Linked DNA regions of Homo sapiens: region 2 is linked to region 1. Evidence: promoter capture Hi-C in 16 types of primary human blood cells and fetal thymus (Javierre and others, 2016). All regions are on one chromosome and are shown on one strand. Each heading gives the region's core, a stretch centred on a gene start or on the middle of the fragment in contact. The rest is flanking DNA. Distances are from core to core; before and after follow the strand shown.

Region 1 (7,053 bases), core at 3,619-6,118:
AATTGGGAGTGCTCTTATTAAAAGAATGGAAAATGATTCTGAGCAAGGGAGGTCAACAGACGTTCTTTGTAGCCAGACTACAGGAAAACAGTCCAAAAGAGTGGAGATAGGTGTTGATATGGCTTGGATATCTCACTCAAATCTCATGTTGAATCGTATTCCCCAGTATTGAAGGTGGGAGTATTGTGGGAGGTGTTTGGATCAATAGGGCAGATCCATTATGAATGGTTTGGGCCATTGCCTTGGTGATAAGTGATCTCTTGCTTTGGCTGGCACCTCCCCCCCTGCTTTCTCTCTCTCTGTGGCTCCTGCTTTTGCCATGTGATGTGCCTGCTCCCCACTCACCTTCTGCCATGATTGTAAGCTTCCTGAGATCTCCCTGGAAGCCAAGCAGATGCCAGCACTGTTTCCTGTAAAGCCTGTGGAACCATGAGCCAAGTAAACCTTTTTCTTTTCTTTTCTTTTCTTTTTTCACCTTTTTCTTTATAAATTACCCAGTCTCAGGTATTTCTTTAGAGTAATGTAAGAACAGCCTAACATAGGTGTCAATACATACTACATAAAAGCAACGACAACAGTGGTCTTGAATATGGTCTCAAAGCAATCAATTCAAAAAGAACCTCATTATACCCTTTTATAACTGAAAGTTAAATGTCTACTGGGACATGATCTGTCCTTTTCTGGGCCTTTGTGTTGTTTGGGCTGCTAGAGAAGAGTGGAAGAAATGGTGAATTCACACTGAGTTCCTGTCTATCTGTTTCCAGTGTGTCTTCATGTACTGCCAGGACTAGAAAGGTAAACATGACATTTCCTAGACTCCCTTGCAGCTAGAGTAATAGATAAAATGAATTTCATTAATTAGATGTGCTCAGAGATTTGAAAGGCAGAAGCAAGGAGGAAAGATTCTTTCTGCTGCTTGATTGCTTTCTGCTGCCATGCACAATTGAGATATTGGGCTTCTGTGCAGCAACTTTCCAATGTCTGGTCTCTAGCTTTGTGAGTTTTGAGAGAGAATAACAGAGGCAGCCACTGTGTTCCCCTGATTATGGAAGAGGCAGCAGCTTCCTGCGTGGGCCAGTTCTGCAGTGCTGCTCTGGGAGCCATTTCTGCAGGTCCAGCCTAGAGCCTGCTACTCCAGCCCTTCCAAAGACATTGAAAGCAGGTAATTTCCTGTATTAAATCGTCTTCTGCTTAAAACCACTAAAGAGTGTCTGTTTACTGGATCTAAACAAGCAGAGTTGACAAAAGTCTCAAGAAAAAATAAAGTCTGGTTCTTGCTCAAGGCCTGGATGTTCAGAGAGGGCTGATTTGGGAGCAACTCCTGGTGATGTGGGCAGAGGAGCAGCTCATTTGGCTTCCATGCGGGCATGTTCCCATGGAAGAAGGGAGCACCAAGGCAACTTCTGGAGCTTTTCTTATCAATATGAGGGCTCCTCCACAGAAATCACCAGGGCTTTTCTCTCTGTTCACCCATCAGGAACTATCCTCCGTTCCTTTAATTCATTTTCTCAATGTGAGGCCTTTGCTATATTCACTTATGCTTTCATTTATAATCCACAACTATTTACTGAGCACCTATTGGCAAGTGCTATTCTCTTGCGAACTAACCCATCTTGCCCCCTCCTAACTCCCTGCTCCATACTCCCATGTACATGCACACACATACATGCACACTGTACACAACACACAAACTTCTCAACTCCTTCACCACCCCCTCCTTGACTGCCACAACCCAGGTTTTTAGTCCTAGTTTGTGCTTCTGTAATTCCTGAATTTTCCCTATCAAAGTGTTTTCTCACACTGTATTGAAATTGCTCATTCACTTCAGTCTCTCATGCTAAATGTAGCTGCAGGGATGGCAAAGGTTGCATTTCTTATTTGCCACTGTAGACTCAATACCTAGCATAATGTCTGGTATACACATAGCCCAGACATCCAATAAATATTTATTGAATTCATATTCTGGCATTCTAAGGGCTTCCAGGGACTGAATTGTCTGGGCTAAACCTCTTAAGATCAAAGGAAGTGCTAGAAACTCCAGATGCTGAGGTAAAATTGAACCTTGGCAAAATACTTCTTTCTTTTCTTCCCAAACCCCTCCTCATGTTTCAATTCCCCATCCTCATCTCTTTTAGCTTGACAAAAAAAAAAAAAAAAAAAAAAAAAAAGAAAAGGCTCTGTCCCTTGCAGGATATGTAACTTTGGAAGAGTTTTTTAACCCGAGACTTTGCTTTCTCACTTGTAAAATGGAAGCGTAGTGAATTACAGATGGCCACACATTCTTTGACACCATTCCCACTTAAAGATAGGATCGATGTTCCTGCCCCTTGATCTTTAATCTGGGTGGGCTCTGTGACACTTGACCAATAGAACAGAGCAGAAGTGATGCGGTGCCAATTTCCAAGTGTAGGTCTTAAGAGACTAGCAGCTTCTACTTGGTTTCTTAGAATGCTCACTCAAAGGGAAGCCCGTCACCATGTTGTGAGAGAGCCTGAGCTAGTCCCAGCTGTTCTGCCCATTCCAGCTGACACACAGACATATGAACGAAGATACCATCTTGGATGTCCAGCCTAGTTGAGCCTTCAGATGATAGCAGCCCCAGCTGCCATCTGACTGCAACAACATGAGAGACCCTAGGTAAGCACTCCCCAGCTAAGCCTAGTCAACACACAGAACTGCGAGCCACTAAAGTTTGGGGTGGTTTACTAAGCAGCAATAGATAACGGCAACTAGAAGTAATGGTAATACCTACCTCATAGGACTGTTATGAAGGTAAAATGAGATTTTTAAATGCAAAACCCCTGTGTACAACCTAGAATGAAACAAGCGCTCATTATGTATCGTCACTTCTCCTGCCTTGCCTCCTTCCTCTTTTTAACTCTATGAATGTCCCAGAAGGAGAGGTAGGTGGAGTGGAGATGGGCTATATGCTAGGTATTTGGAATTTGAATAGCTCTCTTTTCTTTTTTACATCTTTCTCTTGCTTCTCTCTTTTCTGTGTTCTTTAAAGCATAGCCAGATCATTTAGATCTAAAATAAGAACACCAAATCAAGCCTTTGCGTTGCAGACAGAAAAATCACGGGTTTTGTATGGGCTTATGGTAATGAAAATCAAGCCCAAGAAACTAAATGATTCAAAGCAAAATTCCCCTTGACAGCTTTTGTCATGTCTCTGTGTGTGTGTGTGTGTGTGTGTGTGTGTGTGTATGTTAAACTAGTACTTTAGCCTACATCATTATTTTACCATGTAAGCATGATAGAATAGCAGGCTTTTTGGAGGGGAAAGATTTTAAAAGTACATGGTTACCTGTAATTACAGTCTTGCAAAGTTTGATTTTATAGAAGTGACATTCAAGTCTGATTTAAACCATGCAGAAAGACATGGTGCATATTGGAAATGCTTTTTCTTTCTGACTCAAATGGCTGTTTCGTTCTAGTGATCTCCCTAGAAGTCAGCCTTTTATTATGTTTATTGTAAGGTTGTGTGTCTTTCTAATTACGTGGCCCATCCTAGAAAACTTGCTACCTTGAGATTACCTTTCTATTTCTCCTTGCATTCCTGCAAACACCTAAACCTCTGTAGACAAGAGGTTCATCTCAGAGTCTGAACTGGCTGAGGATCATAAAATTCTGTCAAATACCTGGTCAATTAAGTTCTGGCTGGAAGAGGGGGTCAAATTAGATGACTGACATGTGCGGATAAGGGCACTGGTTTATTTCACATTTTAGCCTTTAATGTGGGTGGGTACACAAAGCCACAGAGTTTGTTGCCATACCCCAACATAAAAGCCTCTGGGACAAGGTTGAAAGGGTAGCGGGGAGAGGGCCTTGGATAGCGGATGGGGTGGTTAACCCGCGACTCTGGTGACATTTTGCCATCAGCCGCTGGTGACATCTTGCCATCAGCTGCAGCTACAGAATGTTGCTCGCAGGAGGAATTTGGCCTGCCGTTGAAGATGTGTTTCTCAGATGAGACTGTAAGGGGCCGGAGCTTGGGATTTTAGGAGTGCAGGGCCCACCTCTTCCTTGGTATCAAGCCACTTAACTAAACTCTTGCGGTGTCTTATGACCAGGGACGAAGTGCGGGGCCCCTTCAGACGTCGCAGCTGGAGTAACTGTTTTCTTTCCATTTCACAGCTCTTGAAGGAGGTGTGACTGAGTGAGGCGCTGGAAAGCTTGTTCTATAATTACTTCTTGATCCGCTTCTAGGCGTGCTGTGCATGCGTCCGACCATGTGTGTTTGCGTTAGCTTGCGCCGTCGACAAGAGCCAGAGAACGTGGGTCTAGGATAAAACGTGGATGATATTTTTGCTTCAAATGTCACATTTTACGGGGGTCTAAAGGTCTTAGGCTGGAGTCTTTGCGGATGATTGCCAACTGTAGCTGAATCTATGAGCTGGGATGTACCCAAGCCAGTGCAATCGCTCCAAATCAGGGCGGGCGGCACTAAGCCGGGGAGCAAACACCGCTCCCGGCCCGCCCAGAGCAGACGCCCTAGGTTGGGGCTGCAGCGAGTGCGCGCGTGGGCTGTGGAGCCGGCGGAGGCAGCGGTCCGGAATGGCTCTGTGGAGGCTGCGCTCTCTTCCTGGCCCCGCAGCCACAGCAGCTGCCCCATGCTCGCGCGGCAGGACCTACCAGGCGCCCACCCTGGGCTGCGCCGCCTCGGACCACCCGCTGCTCCCCTCCGCCCGCTGCCTCTTCTCCCCGCGCCTCACGGGGCTCCGCACTGACTCCAGGCGCCTCCGGGGGCGTCGCGCGCGCGGAGCGGCGCCGGGGGCGGGGCCTCGTGTAGGGCGCCCCGGGATTGGCTGTGGGGAGAGGGGGCGGGGCCGGCCGCGGAGAAAACAGCCGGCGCGCCGCGCGAGTGCAGTCTGGGTCTGGAGCCTGAGCCCTGCGGAACCTCGGCGCTCGGCCCCACCCCGCCCGTACCTGCACTTATTTATTGTTGTTATTTCTTACCGCGGAGCCCCGCAGTCGGGTCCTCCCGCCCGCTCCCGCGCAGCGCTAGCATTCTCCAGTCCCTCAGTCCCTTCCCGCGCGGTGCGCCGCAGCCGAGGCGATGCGCCTCATTCAGAACATGTGCACCATCGCCGAGTACCCCGCGCCGGGCAACGCCGCGGCCTCCGACTGCTGTGTGGGCGCCGCCGGCCGCCGCCTGGTCAAGATCGCCGTGGTGGGCGCCAGCGGCGTGGGCAAGACCGGTGAGTCGTCGCGCTTAGCCCTGGGTCTGGTCTTGGACGACCCCTGACGGGAGTTGAGGCTGAACAAGGCGTGGGGAGCGGTGGGAGCTGCAGCCCGACCGCTCTCCGTCCCCGCGCAGGGAGCCGCTGCCCCTTGGGAGTGGGCTTAGCCGTTGTCTACGCCACCCGCCTGCTTCCACAGACGGGGGAAACAAGGATCAAGAATGGCCAGGCAGCTTTCTGGGGACCACCGGCACCGCCGCCATCAGAACTTTGGGGTGTTTGAGCCTCTGGCAATGCCTGGCACAGAAAGGGGAGTTAGTGAAGCTAGCCCCCCTGGGAGGTCTTGAAGGTTAGGAAGACATGGGTCTACTGGAAGGCTTAGGTGTGGCTCAGCCGGGCTCAGAGGAGGGGGTGGGCCCAGTGAGCCTTCCAGCTGCACAGAGCCATAATTCACGATGCCTTCTAGCCCCCTCCTTTTTGTCTGGAAAGAAGGGTCAAGGAGCTACAGGGTAGGAATTTCACTTGGTGGCCATCTATGGCTTTCTTTGGGAGAACTGTTTTCCAGGCAGGGGGTGGGGTGGAGAACAATCTAACTTCCAAGGTTAACACTTTGACGTTCTTTTTTCTGACGTGCAGCACTGGTGGTCCGGTTCCTCACCAAACGATTCATCGGTGACTATGAAAGAAATGCAGGTGAGACAATGCATTTGAGAAAAATTCTGTCCCATTGCAGGAGGACTGCGGTTCCCATTTTCCAGCGCTTCCCAGGGAGGTTCTTTCAGTGACAGTCCGAGCCTGAGGATCCCGCCACTTAAAACTTTCCCCAGTCCCCAGCCCTCCATGGCGCCCCCCTCCCATAACTACCATCTGGCCTCATTCCATTCCAAGCCCATTCATCATTTTATCAAGTGCCTGAAAGTATTCCCCTTGGTATGTTTTAACTATAGTGACCCCAGTTGGAAGCACCCTTTGTAGTCAAGAACCTCTCCCTTCAAAACACTCCTGCAAAAGTCGTAAAAAAAAAAAAAAGGAGTCCCTAGCTCCTTCCCCCACCCCTCTCCTTCTCTGCTGGCTGCCTTTCAGAGGTGACCTTTTAAAGCAAAGGCCAAAGGAGAGCAGTTGTAAACCTAAAGTTCCTCCTTCTTAACAAAGACAAACAACTGGATGGTAGAATTTTAGGAGGAGAATTCCCGAATAAATGAGAGGACACATTTTTCAATCCTTATGATTAAGAATAGCCACTGGGGAGGCTTAAGAGCTTTCTGCCTATGCTCTGTTAGCAAATTGCTTAACTCTGTAGACCATATGAGTACCTATAGGGGATTATTTGAAATGAGCTGTATAAGCTATCCCAAGATAAGACATGGCAGCCTTCTGATTTGATGTAGAGTTGATTATAATTATATCACATTTTTATTCCAACTGATAACATTGGCTGTGTGTTTACTAACAGTATTTGTCTAGCAAGCCATTATATCTAACGGCCAAAATACAAAGTTACAGTCAAAGAATGAATCAAGTACTCAAGAAAACAGAAACCTCACATAGGCTGAGCAAGATAATTTGCATCAAGGGAGTACTCTAAAAATGGAAACTTTGTTTAAAACTAGATAAATAAGTTTTCAAAAACTTGCAAACTTTGCCCTGGTTTTAATAAATCTAACATAGGGTTAAAATTGCTGTTGTTTTTTAAAAAAAATCTGAAGTAAGCCCACCAAATAGAAATAAACTATCGCTGTTTTGTGTGCATTTATGCATTGTGCATTTTTTTTCTAGCTTAAAACTCACAATGTTTTAAAAGTTGTACAAGAAGGAAGAACATAATCTCTTTTATTTGCCTTCATAGGTAATCTCTATACTAGACAAGTTC
Region 2 (6,960 bases), core at 1-2,500, 1.4 Mb after region 1:
CGGAGATCCACTCCCGAGACAGGAGTACCGTGGAGGGCCGTGTGACTTTCGCCAAAGTGGAGGAGACCATCGCCGTGCGATGCCTGGCTAAGAATCTCCTTGGAGCTGAGAACCGAGAGCTGAAGCTGGTGGCTCCCAGTGAGTTCCTCAACAGTCAGGACAACTCATCAGCTGAGCCGCATCTGCCCCAGGCGGAACTTTGAATCCCAGATAGGGGTTATATAGAAATGAAGGTCCCAAGGCAGAAATTCAGTTATGAATGCTCTTAAAGTCATGTGGGACTTTGTTTTATTTTGTTTTGTTTTTTGAGACAGAGTTTTGCTCTGTGGCCCAGGCTGGAGTGCAATGGCACAATATTGGCTCACTGCAACCTCTACCTAGGACGTTGTTTTAGATTCAGATCCAAAACTGCATTTTTGCAGAGGCCCCTCAACATTTTGCTTGTCTAATAATATAGCTACAGTCTCTACTTTGAATGTCTGTGTATGTGGATGGAGTGTGGGGAAGGATCTTCTGTCTCATTGCTCCTTAAAAGATAGATGAAGCCAAAAGCAATATAAGCAAAATGCAACTTACAAAATAAGCTTTATAATAAAGCATATGAAGTAGAGGTGTCTGCCCATATAGTAGCTGTCAATTGCATTTATCCTATTCAAATTCTGTCCACAAGGTTACTGTTGGAGCAACTTTGGAGAAAATACTGAGTTCTCCTGATTGAATTTTGTCCCCTTCTTGTATAAGGAAAGAGTTGATGTAGTTTCCTGGGTGTAGATGGTTTGAGAGATGGTACTGCCTATCCCTAAAATGAACCAGGCAGCCCTCACACTTCCCCACCAGCAGTGAGAGATTCCTGGCTCAGACACAGCCACACTACCTTGCTGCCCCTGTGCATGTCTGCCAGGAAACTTTTCATTGTGCCTCTCTCTCTTGTCACGTAGCCCTGCGTTCTGAACTCACGGTGGCTGCTGCAGTCCTGGTGCTGTTGGTGATTGTGATCATCTCACTTATTGTCCTGGTTGTCATTTGGAAACAGGTAGATATTTTCTCATAAAACTAAAGATCTTTGAAGCCAATGAGAACAAGCATAGCAACCTAGTTCAGTGCTTGGCACAGAGAAGGAGCTCAGCAATTACATGTGGAGTGAACGTTGTTGGACTCTACTGTGTCCAGTCACTGTGCTGCTTCAGTGAAGCTCTGGTGCACTGGGACTTTGGTAATTCACCAGTTACCTGTCCTGGTCATTTATAGAAACCGAGGTATGAAATTCGCTGGAGGGTCATTGAATCAATCAGCCCAGATGGACATGAATATATTTATGTGGACCCGATGCAGCTGCCTTATGACTCAAGATGGGAGTTTCCAAGAGATGGACTAGTGCTTGGTAAGTTCCATGGGGTAACCTCCCAAGACTCCCTTTTCCCTTGCACACAACTTTACAATTTATAGGCCTTGGCAGAATAGAGATCTGAGCTTGTGCTTAGTAAGAACTAGGCAATGGAAATTTGCTTTCAGAAATACATTTCTGTCTTGACAGTAAGTTAATTGGATCATTGCAATGATTTTTTTAAATCTCTTTCCATAACAAATTATAGTTAAGGAAAATTTTACAAAGGGAGAAGAGAATATGAAGAGGGCTGGCAAAGATACCCACCAAAATTGCTTTTCTTTAGAAATGACACAAATTGAAAATGAATTTCTGTGACTAAAAATGAGCAGATGAGAAATGAATGAGGACAACCACAAAATGTATTTTGATTCAGTACATTCTGAAGATGCATTAGATACTCCTTTTTACATATTTGGAATATGGAATATAAAAATATAGGTACATTTTGAGGCAAAATATGTAAAAATAAGCAAGCCAACTTATCACAAGCATTTCAAGTATTTCAATCCTGGGCTGAGACCAAGTATATGAAGCTTTAGTCCAAGGGAGTATTTCTTTTTTAAATCACATTCCTAATGAATGAAAGCAAGACAAAGGCAAATGAAAGTAGAGGTAGAGGTTGTGTTATGATGAATGATCTAACAGTATATATGTTAAAGAATGCCAAATGCAGGTTTTAATTATCCACCGGTCTCATTGCAAAATACAGAAGAGTTTAAGTCTTCTTAGAGAGTTAGGTAAACTGAAATCAAGCAAGGCACCAGAGTGAAATCACCTTTGCAAAAATTGTAACTGAGGAAATTATGACAGTGAATGAGATATGACCTAACCAACTCCATTTTGCTTTAGCCTCCAAGTTGTCCTTGTTCCTTCCTGGGCATAGGCCGAACTAACTTTGAGAGGAACTTAGTTTATAGTTTGACTTTGAAAAAAAGACAATAATAGCCCTTTGCCAAAACAAACCCTCTTTTTCCCTGGGAACTAGACTGCCTTTGCGGGACTAACGAATTAGCTACAAGATTAGAAAGTATGGTTTAGGGGTCACTGTTGTAAAACCTGAGGTCAGTGCTTGAGATATTTTGGAGACCCTGTATTTCGATGCACCAGCTGACACCACCCAGGTCAATAAACTGGCTCATCTGATCTTGGGGCCCCTACCTAGGAACTGACTCAGTGCAAGAGGACAGCATCAGCTCCCTATAATTTCATCTTTGACCCAACCAATCAGCACTCCCCTTTTCACCCCCTACCCACCAAATCATCCTTAAAAACCCCATTCCCCCAGTTTCAGAGACACTGATTTGAGTAATAGCAGAATAGTAGAAATTCCCCCAGTTTCAGAGACACTGATTCGAGTAATAGTAGTAATAGTAGAATAGGTCTCCCGTACAGCTGGCTCTGTGTGAATTAAACCCTTTTTCTATTGCAATTCCCCTGTCTTGGTAAATCGGCTCTGTCTAGGCAGCGGACAAGGAGAATCCATGGGGCGGTTATAAGAGCTGCCCCCCAATTTCAAATATTTATATCTAAGCTTTCTTTATTTTCCTGCCTATTTCCCAACAAGGGATGAGGAGCTTAGGGAGTTAAAAAGTAGTAAAATATGGGGAAAAGGGCATAATTCCCATTATACCAAGAGGCATTGCTGGTGAAGCAATACCTTTCCAGGTACGATTTTCAGTAACACAGACGTGCAGTAAGAGGCAGTGTTGGCTGTTAGTGTCTTTTATGAGCCAAGTCTTTTCCTGGCTTGGCTATCCGTGGTGAGACTGACACCCCGGGAAATGTTTCTCTCAGGGTGAGCTCTTTCAGGGTGGGACAACAGCTTCAGTGTCTTTACGTATGTCTCCTCCCAACATGAAGCTAATTGCTGTGCTCTCGGGCATGTTTAGCTCTTGGTAGAGTGGCTTTCCTAACAAATAGGGAGCAGTGAGCCCAGCCTGAAGTTTTTATTTAGTCACTCCTTAGAATCAGTGATATTTTGAATACTGAAGTATTTCCAGTGGCTAGTAATTTACTAAGACAAAAGATGCCCCTGTTTGCATATGGAAAACAGAAGGGGAGAGAGCCAGGAGGTGTGGGTGAGAGCCCCGAAGGCAAGAGGATCCCAGGGGCTGGCCCAGCACGGAGCTGGTAGACAGCGCGCTCACACCAGGGAGGGCTGCACCCTCCTTTCTCCCGTCTGTGTTTTCTTTCCCTTGCAAGTGTTATTCGACAAAAGCAATTATGCTAATTTCCTTCCCTGTGGGCTCAATTCCTTTTTTGACACGATGACTTGGAGGAGTCATTATGATTACTCCAAACAGGAAAGACACTCGCCCAGCTGTCCGCCCGCAGAGAGCTGGCTACGGTGCAGAAAGCTGAGGAGGCGTCTGGAGTTTTTGGGTGTTAATGATTCTGCCTGCCCACAGGTCGGGTCTTGGGGTCTGGAGCGTTTGGGAAGGTGGTTGAAGGAACAGCCTATGGATTAAGCCGGTCCCAACCTGTCATGAAAGTTGCAGTGAAGATGCTAAAACGTAAGTGCTCCTTCCTGGGGATTTTTTGAGCACGGGGATTTTTTGAGCATGGGGATATTAAGGGAATTTCTCAAAATCATGCAGCTAGTAAATAAGACATTTAGGACTAGGTCCTGATTATTTTGACTCCAGGTTTTATGTGTATTTAGATTAGGTTTATTTAGATTGCTCTTGCTGCCTGTATGTTGGAAAATTAAGAGCTTGTTATTTCCAGTGACTTCTTTTTACTAGAAAGACCAGGAATTAGTTATTAGCACTGAGGCCAAGTAGCTATCTGCTTCTTTTAGACTTCTGGTAAATAGAATGATATCCAATCACAGGATTAGTCATATTCTTGGTTTTTTTCTGAGAACAGGAAGTTGGTAGCTCAGCTGGACTGATATGTGATTTATTCTTTCAACAGCCACGGCCAGATCCAGTGAAAAACAAGCTCTCATGTCTGAACTGAAGATAATGACTCACCTGGGGCCACATTTGAACATTGTAAACTTGCTGGGAGCCTGCACCAAGTCAGGTGGGCTCACTGACCTGGAGTGAGGATTTTCACTGGACACATGTGGTTGTGAAAACTGTTCAATCAGGCTTAAATCCTCCACTCTCCATCCCCACACATGGCAGGGAATAGAAGTCCCTTGAATGGAGCTGACTGGTCCCTTGAATTGATGGAAGCTCATTGGTTTTTGAGCAAAATCTGTTGCCAGTCCAGTCATAGCCATTCATGGCTCTTTATTAAAAAAAAAAAAAAAAAAAAAAAAAAAAAACTTTTTTGGTATCTTATTTTTTTCTGTGCCATATGGTCTGCAGGACAATTCATGGCTTTTCTGTTCTTCATTTTCATACCCATCTCCTAACGGCTTTTGTCCCCATAGGCCCCATTTACATCATCACAGAGTATTGCTTCTATGGAGATTTGGTCAACTATTTGCATAAGAATAGGGATAGCTTCCTGAGCCACCACCCAGAGAAGCCAAAGAAAGAGCTGGATATCTTTGGATTGAACCCTGCTGATGAAAGCACACGGAGGTGGGTGCAAAGAGAGATGTTGCTGTCTATCATTATCTTACAGGCATCACAAATGGAAAGACCCATGTCCTGATAGATATCATGTCTGCAGATTCAGTGCCCAAGGTAGCAAGACTTAGAGTCAAACCACCCTGTCCAGTCTTTCCATGGTCATGCAGAGAGATGCATGATGTCTAAAGGTGTTTTGGACTGGGGTGTCACATGGGAAGGCCTTGCTGATAGGTTTGAATGAGAGTGAGTTAGAATGACTCTGGGAGCTCTTCTGCTATTTACATGTGATCCACTTAGACCTATAAAATGCAGCTCTGGCCAGGGATGCTTGAGTTCTGGAACCTTGCAAGAACTGTCTGTGGATCTCCAAGCTCGAGGTCCTTGCTGAACCTGGACCTATAAATGACGTCAATGATAGTGATCCCTACTGCAGAAATCTACAAGTGGCTATAAAGAACTCTGTAGGTAAGAAATTCTGTAAGATCAGAAAGTACAATGAATTCACTTCATAATAAATTACTTGGTGGACACCAAATGGGTGCTAAATTGATTGGGTAGAAGGAATTGTATGCCCAAGCCACATGGCCACACGGCTCAAGTTCCAACCAAGGCTTGTGAGTTGAAAAACTGAGAAAGAATAATGACAGACTTAACGTAGTGAATTCTTCAAACTTTAAGTGTAATGGACTTACAGGTCCATGGGAGCACAGCCCCACTGTCTTAGATGTGGCTCTTCAGGATGTGCGGGCTCCTGCTAAGGATGTGCAGGGAACTGGCTCTGAAAACAAGTGAACAGTAGTCATCATGGCAGCTGACATTTGTGGAGTCCTTTGTATGTGCCAGGTGCCATGACAAATATTCCGCTAGTCTTTCCCATCTTTGTCAGTGGGATCCATTCTACGTCTTCTGAAAAGTGCTTCCTTGACCCCCAGATCAAGTCATTTTCCTTACAAGCTATTGAAACCTTTCTTCCTTCACAACACAGCTGAGTTTGAGTTGATCTGTGTATTTATTTTGTTTTTTACATTTCTTTTTTTCCCTATTTAAAAAATTTTTTTATTTCCATAGGTTTTTGGGGAACAAGTGGTATTTGGTTACATGAGTAAATTCTTCAGTGGTGATTTGTGAGATTTTGGTGCACCCATCACTGGAGCAGTATACACTGAACCCAGTTTGTAGTCTTTTATCCCTCACCTGCCTCTCAATTTTTCCCCGAGTCCCCAAGTCCATTGTGTCATTCTTATGCCTTTGCATCCTCATAGCTTAGCTCTCACTTATGAGTGAGAACGTACGATGTTTGGTTTCCATTTCTGAGTTACTTCACTTAGAATAATAGTCTCTAATCCCATCCAGGTTGCTGCAAAAGCCATTAATTCATTCCTTTTTATAGCTGAGTTACATATATATATATATATATGCACACCTACACATACATATGTATAGATACACTGCAGTTTCTTTATCCACTCCTTGATTGATGGGCATTTGGGGTTGGTTCCACATTTTTTCAATATGTGAATTGTGCTGCTATAAACATGTGTGTGCAAGTATCTTTTTAGTATGACTTCCTTTCCTCTGGTAGATACCCAGTAGTGGAATTGCTGTGATGCATGTATTTGTGCGACTATTTGATTAATGCTCATTTCCTTGACTAGATCACCTCATGTGAAAGGTATGGATTGGTTTTGCTTTTACCCAGTTAGCTCCCATGCCTACCTCAGTACCTGGCACATAATCATCATCTACTGAAAGTGGAATGACCACTTCAGAAGGGCACCCTGGGTAAGATTTCTCTTTCTGTTTTTACAGCTATGTTATTTTATCTTTTGAAAACAATGGTGACTACATGGACATGAAGCAGGCTGATACTACACAGTATGTCCCCATGCTAGAAAGGAAAGAGGTTTCTAAATATTCCGACATCCAGAGATCACTCTATGATCGTCCAGCCTCATATAAGAAGAAATCTATGTTAGGTAAAAGTGTCTATACTCACTCTGGGTGTTGGGACTTTCCAGTGGTTTAATATGATACTTAAAGTATTTA

The links. Contacts are between HindIII fragments. The CHiCAGO score rates a contact against its expected background, and 5 or more counts as called.
Region 2: a fragment that was not itself captured here is called in contact with the fragment with the promoter of RASL11B in region 1 in 1 of 17 cell types (M1 macrophages); the score reaches 6.1 in M1 macrophages.

The regions. Positions count from the first base shown.
Region 1 is chr4:52,857,449-52,864,501 of GRCh38, forward strand. RASL11B (RAS like family 11 member B) reads left to right here and starts at 4,869. Exons shown (of 4, transcript NM_023940.3): 1 at 4,869-5,201; 2 at 5,820-5,876; 3 at 7,030-7,053. The coding sequence starts at 5,060. It overlaps LOC124900700 (a long non-coding RNA gene), which reads right to left and starts at 4,757. Exons shown (of 2, transcript XR_007058115.1): 1 at 4,636-4,757; 2 at 3,701-4,283. RefSeq lists silencers at 4,433-4,922, 4,894-5,188. The HindIII fragment of the contact is 3,261 bases long and covers 4,174-7,053 here.
Region 2 is chr4:54,273,593-54,280,552 of GRCh38, forward strand. PDGFRA (platelet derived growth factor receptor alpha) reads left to right here. Exons shown (of 23, transcript NM_006206.6): 10 at 1-138; 11 at 939-1,033; 12 at 1,249-1,381; 13 at 3,796-3,900; 14 at 4,304-4,414; 15 at 4,770-4,923; 16 at 6,724-6,890. Among named protein-coding and RNA genes, the nearest start is that of PDGFRA, 48 kb to the left of the region's middle. RefSeq lists an enhancer at 4,564-5,087. The HindIII fragment of the contact is 1,336 bases long and covers 583-1,918 here.